Linked DNA regions of Homo sapiens: all the other regions are linked to region 2. Evidence: promoter capture Hi-C in human tissues and cell types (Jung and others, 2019). All regions are on one chromosome and are shown on one strand. The core of a region is centred on a gene start or on the middle of the fragment in contact, and the rest is flanking DNA. Distances in the headings are between cores, read along the strand shown. Region 1 has its middle 140 kb from the start of LINC02498. Region 2 holds the start of CLNK (cytokine dependent hematopoietic cell linker). Region 3 has its middle 79 kb from the start of LINC02498.

What was found. The method cuts DNA at HindIII sites, captures the fragments that hold promoters and counts their contacts. A contact is called where the count stands out against the background at its distance.
Region 1: a contact is called between a fragment that was not itself captured here and the fragment with the promoter of CLNK in region 2, in 1 of the 25 tissues and cell types used here (mesendoderm cells).
Region 3: a contact is called between a fragment that was not itself captured here and the fragment with the promoter of CLNK in region 2, in 1 of the 25 tissues and cell types used here (lymphoblastoid cells).

What each region holds. Positions count from the first base shown.
Region 1 is chr4:10,873,604-10,876,343 of GRCh38, forward strand. No RefSeq gene overlaps it. Among named protein-coding and RNA genes, the nearest start is that of LINC02498, 140 kb to the left of the region's middle. The HindIII fragment of the contact is 3,938 bases long and covers 1-2,740 here.
Region 2 is chr4:10,683,144-10,686,156 of GRCh38, forward strand. It overlaps CLNK (cytokine dependent hematopoietic cell linker), which reads right to left and starts at 1,625. Exons shown (of 19, transcript NM_052964.4): 1 at 1,525-1,625. The HindIII fragment of the contact is 5,072 bases long and covers 1-2,776 here.
Region 3 is chr4:10,815,357-10,818,152 of GRCh38, forward strand. No RefSeq gene overlaps it. Among named protein-coding and RNA genes, the nearest start is that of LINC02498, 79 kb to the left of the region's middle. The HindIII fragment of the contact is 3,086 bases long and covers 1-2,796 here.

The DNA.
Region 1 (2,740 bases), core at 100-2,599, 190 kb after region 2:
GGCCTTCTTAGAATTCTGTGTACCACAGGTATTTAGTAGTATTGATTTAAAATTAGGTCAACTTGATTTGGTTCTATTGTTTTATAGAATCCTTTATTTAGAACATTGCACACAGAGAGAGACCATCTATTAAATGTACATAGAAGGCAGGAGAAAGTAATGGCTATAACCTCTAAAATGTTTACCATGTTTTGCACTGTTAACTCAAAAAGCACTTCAACACAGCATCTGTGTCTGACATCCTCACCTGTAGCTGCCACAGGCTTAATGAAGTGACACTTAAGGAGTGGGTGAACAAAAATCTTCATCCAATTTTTGAGCACCAAGCACTGAACTATATTTGTTTTCTAGGGCTTAAACAACCATTTATTGTCTCACAGTTCTGGAGACTGGGAAGTCCAAAATCATGGTGTCAGCAAAACTGGTTCCTTCTGAGGCCTCTCTTCCCAGCTTGTAGATATATGGCTGCCTTCCCTTTGTGTCCTCACATGGCCTTCTCTCTGTGTGTGTCAGTGCCTTAATCTCCTCTTCTTATAAAGACGCCAGTCATATTCAATTGGCACCAACCCTAATGACCTTTTTAATTAATCTAATTATCTCTTTAAAGAGCCTATCTGCAAATGCAGTGGTATTCTGATGCACTGAGGGGATTGGAACTTCAATATAAGGATTTTGGGAGGGACACAGTTCAGCCCATGACACCAATCAAGTGTGAGGCACCCAGAATAGGAATTATTATTCTCATATTATAATGACAAACTTCGGGCATAGATAATGACTCAAGGTCCAATCACTGATATGGGGCCATAGGAACTTTTAAACACAAGCAGCAGAGCTACCTCTTTTGATCTCTTTTAGGTGCGCCAAATTGTGTGGCAGGTTGAAATTTACCTCTCAGACATGAGAAGAAATGCTATTAAGTTGGGACACAATGAAGTCAATCTCAGAAGGCTTTATTAAATCGGTAGCTTTTTGGGGGACATAAATTATCCTTGCTTTCCCTGCTGCATGAGTGCTATTCAAAGACTTTTTGTTTTACCTCATCCTCTTGTTTTATGATGAATTTGTGCGTGAAAAGACTCATTAAGAACATCATTATTCTACATTTATCAGTAATGAACTGTCTGTGGCACCTATTAGCAGCAAAATGGTCTAAGTCCCGTTTTGTATCTGTCTACATTCTTCTTCATTATTTTCTGCTCCACTCTCATCCATTTAAAATGGATTTGGCTGGGTGCAATTTTATCCCCAATTGTTCTTTTATTTGAGAGACAAATATTAATAGAATTCATAATCCTTGAGGAGTCCACTCCAAATGTTCCAATATGAAAATGACTTTTTAATTTTTAATGCTGGTGAGGGGCAGGGACGCTCACCTCCAGAACCTACTGTGTAGCAGACTCTCTGCATTTATTATTACAGTTAATTTTTGGAACTCAGAAATGGGCATTAATGTCCCCATTTTACCAAAGACAGATGGGAGGAACAGAGGGAGAATGCCTCATTTTGGCCATTCATCCTAGTACTAAGTCCACTATATGGGTGTGGGGCTAGGGGGTTAGGGATCAAGACCATTGCCAAAGGTTATGTTGCAGAATAGGTTTTTTTCTGAATTCCACATTCATGCTGATTCCAATATACCCAGACATAGGCTCAAACCTGGAACTTATTAAAATGTGTGAGTACCTCTGCTGACTGCAAGCTCCACAACACCTTTTGCTTAGTTAGCCTAGTTCATTTCTGCTGGTGTTTTATTATGCAAATGTCTTGTTCTGGTTTAGTCTGTCACCTTTTAGGCAAGAAAAGAGATTTTAAAAAAATCTTTCTCACTTCTTTAGTTCCTTTGCAGATTTTTTTTTCTCTTTATCTCCCTCCTCGTAAAATTAAGATTCCTTGGGAGGACATAGAGGGCAGAGATCTTACCAGAGCCCCACCCAGATGCAGAAAGTTATGTAATTTTACATCTAAACCTTCCAGCATCTCCTACTGCACCCAATTGAGAGGTATGCTGTTTCACTTTCTATCATTTGCTCAGAGCCAGGAAACAAAACCTGTGATTAACAAACCAAGTCTTAAATGCGATTTTAAAATATTGACAAACAATCTTATGTATGTCTTTCATGCCTAAACTTCAGAGTGTGAGAATTTTTGTGGGCTTCTGTTGATGCAAAGGATACACTTTGAGGCCCTGAGTCCTGTGGGTCTGAACTTCAGCTTCACCCTCTGGAAATGTTCACTTCGATAAGCAAATGCATTCCGGTATTGTAGGATACAGATATTGTAGAAAACTAATTCAAAGTGACCTAACCAAGAGTCTTCTGCACACTGTACCTACATCTTTTTGTTTTAAATTTATTTTAAATATTCTGTTGCACCTAGATCTATGAACGGTAAAATTATAGTAAATATTTTTGACCAACTTTTCCCATATTGAGATACCTATAGTTATCTACCTATATGTATCTATATTTCTACAAATCATTGTTCAGTCATCTCAACATTTTCCACCAACAAAGGCCTTTGCAACACAAATCTAAAGCTTTCCAAATGGCATATGAAGGAAGCAAAGTGGTTTTCAGGCCCAGAAATGCTGACCAATGAGTCTCCTCCGTTCTGACTATGATTTTAGAGAAGGTGCAGCTTCTCAGACATGAGAAAAACCTTTCTAAAGGAAGTGATTAAAACATACGTAAAGATATACCTTTAAATAAATCAATTTCTTCCACTATTATATGTTCTG
Region 2 (3,013 bases), core at 375-2,874:
GAGGATCATATATGAAACAACATCCCTGGTCCAAGTGGCAGAGTCAGGATCCTCACCATTTTGATCAGGCGTCAAATCCTACAGTCTTTCTAAGACAGCACCTGACTCATGGCAAAGTGATCGAGAAACAGAATCCCCTGGTGTTCAGGCCAGAGCTGGCCAGATGGTACAGAAGATTATAAGCACTGGCTTTCAAATGGTCTTGCCTATACAGTCATCTGAGAGGGCTTGTTGGGAATAACAAAGAAATACTACCATTTAGATGGTTGGTGTCAGAGACCACCCAGGAGTGAGTTTAGGGATGAGCTCTGTGAAACTGCAAACTAACACTGTTCACCATTCCAATCAGTCAGCCAGGAAAATCAGTTTCCTTCTGAATTCTGTTACTGACATTAGTGACTGAACAACCTTGCACATATTACTTAGAGAACTCAAGTTCTTCACCTGTAAACCAGGGAAAGTAATAGCCAGCTCTCTAGGTCAGCAGGAGCTGAAGGTAAGTAAATGCCAGTTGCCATTCCTACTTCTCTAGGGCATACTGTATCTTAAGCTTCTTAGAGGATTTCTGAAGCGCTGTCATTTCTCTGGTAGGCCTTCAATTAACCAGCTCTACCATCGTCTTCTTGATATTTGAAATGATTATTCCTGGTGGTTTGGGAGGCCCCTGGAAATCCAAAGAACAACACTATTGAGGAGCTGCGCCACAGTATAGACAGAGACAGCCAGAGAAATAGCCATGTAGGTAATAGACAAGTAATACTCATAACAGAGAAGCCAAATGAGTAACACTGGTGTAAAGTAATAAAAACAGTATTGATAAAAAGTTCAGGCATATCGACACCTTTTAAAATCAAAGTATCCATATTTTGATGATAGTTATTTTCTTTTCTGTCTCATTCCAGTTTGTTTGCTTTATCCAATAAAAGCCTGGTAGAGATGACTCCCGGCACTTTTCAAGAGTAAGAATTTAACCCCAACTTTAACCTCACTTTTGAGCTCCTTACTCTTGTGAGTGGAAGGATGTCTGCGTGATTCCAAAGTCTAAGTCTCCTCTACACCAAAGCAGAAAGAAAATCGTATTACTTTAGAAAATGTTAAAAATATATTTCCACAGGGCTCCAGGAGTTAACTTATACTTTGAATGACCTACTTTGAATGGAGGCTTTCTTTCTAGAGGGCTTACTTAATGAAGGTCAGCCAGGAAAGCCAGCCATGGGGCCTGGTCTTTAGATTTCAGTTGCAAACAGTCGGGGAGTCCAAGCTCCAGGAAAAGAAGATTGAAAACATTTAGTCTTTTAATTTTCTGTGGGTAGGTATCCTGATTCTTTCTCCCAAAAGAATGAAAGGATCTTTAACAATTGAGTTAAGGGCTTTCTTCTTGCTCCTTTGATGCTATATATAAGGCCCAGACTTCCACTTTAGAAACACATTTTTACTTGCTGCTCAGGTCTTTCCTGATGATCATTTATGACAAGGAGATGACCATGAGATCCTCACTCAGAAGAACTGGCCTAATGAGTTTACCTGAACAGCGTGGAGAGCACCAAGGGATCTAGGCTGAGGTGTCCGTCTCCTGTGAGGAGGGGCGGCAGTGCAGAGACCTTGGGGCACTGGAAATTAGTAAGGCGGTGGGTTGAATTCTTCTCGATGCTAAGCAGTGCCCTTCAGCAGAAAACCTCCTGATAGGTCCGTTTTAGACTTGGTTTCCTGTGAAATGCAGCCACAGACCTGAGAGGTCTGACCTGAGGGCTGGCAGGACTTCCTCTTCTTAGGCTGGAGTGCAATACGTGAAGCTTTCAGAGGCTGAAATCTTCCAATGCAAAGGGTGTTTTTAAAGACACACGGTGTCCTTATGTGGCACTTCATAGTTACCAGAACACAATAAAAGGAACTGCTGGGCAACACTCAAGCATGGAAGGTGGGTTTTGCGAGTCTCACTTTATATGAATAGTGGACATTAACTATCATCTTTTGGCTTAATTTTGCAATGGCTTCCTGAGACCATCCCAGACACATGGACCAGGTGTTAAGGAAAGAACCTGGGAACTAAAGGAGAAATGCCTGCCTCTTATTCTTGCTGTATTAATTATTAGCTATAGGATCTTGGGCACTTTGAAGTTTATTTCTCAAGTAGTTTGAGTGATAATAATATTTGTATTTTAGAAACTTTTTTAAAAAATGAGGGATAATTGAGGATTATATTTCCTTCATTGAGGAAATGATATTTCCTCAATTGTGATGGAAGGATAATATTTATATTTTAGAAGTATTTCAATAAATAAACAAAATATTGTAAATAAAGGCATGCAGTAATGTTTGGGCACATATCAGTTGCTTAATACATTTTCTTTCGGCCTTAATCTTGGTCCATTTAAGCTGATCTTGCCGAGTGCCTGTTTCCTCTTCTGGAGACTTGACATTCTAGTTTTATATAAATTGATGTTGAATTCCATAACAAACTCCAACATTATTTACAATAAATTCAAAGGTAGAAGTTTATATTTTCTTGGGTAAATAACTCTGGTTTTGACTTAACAGACACCCCAAGGAAAACATGAAAATAAGCACTCTTTGAATGCTAATTGTGAGTCAGTTACATTGCTAAGCAACTTGCAAGCATTATCCTCCTTAATCTTACTAATAACCATGTAAGGAACATATGTAAAATCCCATTTTGTAATTGTGAAAACTGAAGACTAGGGAGACTCGAGTAGTTTAACCACTTTATTAATTAGCTTTTGCTGCATTAGGGGCTTAAAGCAGTAACCACTTTATTTAGTTCATAATTGTGTGTGTCACTTGCTCACTTCTTTTGGTCTGGACCCATATTAATTTTCTGGGGTTTTCATAACAAAGGACTGAGCCCTGAGTGGCTAACAAAACAGAAGGTCAAATTGTATTGTCTCACAGTCTGGCCTCTGGAAGTCTGAGATCAAGGAGTCGGCAAGGTTGGATCCTCCTGAGAGCCATGAGGAGAAGATCTGTTCCAGGCCTTTATCCCCGGCTTGTGGGT
Region 3 (2,796 bases), core at 79-2,578, 130 kb after region 2:
AATATTTTGTATGCATACCTATTCCAGCTACCTACCATTAATAAATAGGCTGTTCAAGGTCAAGGATCAAGTCAAAGTTATCTATGTATTTCCAAAAGTAAAATTATATTGACATCTAGCAAGGTACTCAGTATTTTTAAAAATAGAATACATCTATTACACCATGAGTTAAATTTTAAAAAATTCGGCATTCCCTAAAAACAAAAAAACAAAACAACAACAACAACAACAAAAACCCAACTGTTGACCTTGTTAGTCTAGGGAGGGTGCAGTAGAAGAAAAATTTAGATTAACAATCTCCTGCAAAATTTAAAAGATTTTGAATTCATATTATTAGTGTCAGAGCTGACCAACACTTAATTTATAAAAAATAAATACACTATGCATGACCCAATTTTATTTAAAAAGTAAAATATTATTTTTGACTGAGAAAATAAAACAATTTTCTTTGCTGGATACCCTATTTTATCAAATCTAATACAAAAACCTTTTACTGAATATACTTTGTTTTCATAAACTTCTTCACCATATTTTTCATAGTTGTTCCTGTGAAATAGTTGTTAGTAAATACAAAGTGATTTTATTAATTCTAACATTTATTTTTCTTTCCAAACAGAAGGAAAGAAAATAATTACTTGTATGAAATACTTGGCATAATGGCTCCACTCATTTATTTATTCCATTAATACTGAGTGCCGCCCAGGTGTCAGGCAATGATACAGGTACCGGGGACACAGAAGGAACAAAGTGGACTGAAATCCTTCACTCTTGGAGTTTATTTTATAGTTGTAGTCTAGACAGACCAAAATTAAAAAAAAAATCAGTACATCTTACAAGTCTGTTAAAAGGTCATAAGTATTATGTAAAAAATAAATTAGGGAAGGAAGATGGTAAGTACTGAATACTGATAATGTATGTGTGCGGGGGCACTGCAATTTTAGATAGGAGGATCACAAACGCTTTTCTGAAAGGGTGACATTTGAGCAATCACTTGGTGATGTATAGGAGGGAGACATGGGTGTCCAGAATCATGTCAGGTGGCCAGAATGGTAAAGACCTTATACTAAAATATTCCATGTATAATTTATGTTTGCAAAAACAGTCTACTAGGAATCCTACCTGTAGTACTGACACGGAAAGGCTATGAGACCTTCTCAAAGACCCTTTCTCTCTCTTGCTCTCACTTTCTTTATCTGTAATATACGGGGTTGAGCTTCATTGGTTCTCAGCCAGTGTGGTCCGAATGATTCTCAGCCAGTCTGAGGGCATATAGGAATGCTAGAGAGTATTTCTGGTTGCCCCGATGTTTGGAGGAATACATCTGACATTTAATGGGTGAGGCCCAGGAAAAGTAAACCTCTTGTAATGCATAAGACAGCCCAGTATAACAAAGGCTTGTCCTGCTGAAAATGTGAATGGGGCCTCTGTTGAGAACACTGGGCTAGGTCATCAGGAAGTTCCCATCTGGAGCTAATGGTGAACGTTGCCGAGCCTACGCGAACAGGGAACGCTCACTCCCCATTCCCGTGTTTCCAGGTGGCAGAACATCCACTAAAGTAACCTGCAGGCCTCTCTCCACTCTCTCCATCTTTCTTCCACTTTTCTGTTTGGTGCATTCAGGGCTTAACTCTTTCTAGTCTTCTTCCTTTGTACATCAGCTTTTTATTGCTGTGTAACAAAATATTACAAACCTAGTGGAGGAAAACAATACCCATTTATTAGCTCACAGCTCTGTAGGTCAGAAGTCTGGCATGGTGTGATTGGGTTCTCTGTTCACGGCATCCCAAGACTGACATCAAAGTGTTGGCTAGGCTGATGTCCGGTCTGGGGGCTCTGGAAAACATCTGCATCCAAGCTCATTGTTTGCATTGGCAGGATTCAGTTCCTTGTCACTGTGTACTAAGGTTTTCCAGTTGCTCAATGGATGTCCACCAGTGGCAGTCTCAGCACTTAAAGGCAGCCCACATTCCTTGAGACTAGGTCCCCTCCAGCTTTAAGGCAGCCAGAGCATGCTTCCAATCGCTGACTTCTTCATCTCTGACCTTTAGCCCAGTTTTAAAGGGCTCATGTGATTAGGCCAGGCCTACCTGGATAATCTCCCTCATAATAAGGTCAACTGGTTTTGGACCTAAATTATATTTGCAAAATTCCTTCAGAGAAACACCTAGATTAGTATTTGATTGAATAACTGAGAAAATGGATATGTTGTTCACCAGAGGCCAAGAATTTGAGGGGTGATCTTAGAACTCTGCCTACCACATATCTGAAGCAAATTTGCTGGCCTATATATTCCCTGCTTCCTTATGCAGTAAATTTTACAAGGGCGGGTTCCCTTGTAGTGGTCCTGTAGTTTTAAAACCTTTCCAGTAACTGACAAGACTAGCGTATTTCTGGGGTTGTAGAATGAGCTGTAGCTCATATGATTTTGCATTTAAGCCAAGACCTCTAACTTAGCTTTAACCAGCAATAAAGTTTACATGAAGATGTCCATTGGTCTGATTCCTCTATCCATCGTTTAATTACTTCTCAACACAATTAGGAAAAAAGGGGTGTTATTTATTAACCCTTGAAATACAGTGAGGTTTTTGTAGGTGTTACCTGCTATACCTGTCTGAGAAATACATTACTGTTGAACAAGTTCAAGAAAGATTAATAAATCATTAAAATAATGGTTTTACCAATAGATTTTTTATCTCTATTATATGTTTTAAAATCTACTTTAAAATTACACAAGTAATATAAGAATGCGTTATTGTTATAAAACATTCGGTTTAGAGTAAGCTTAAGACTTCCTTA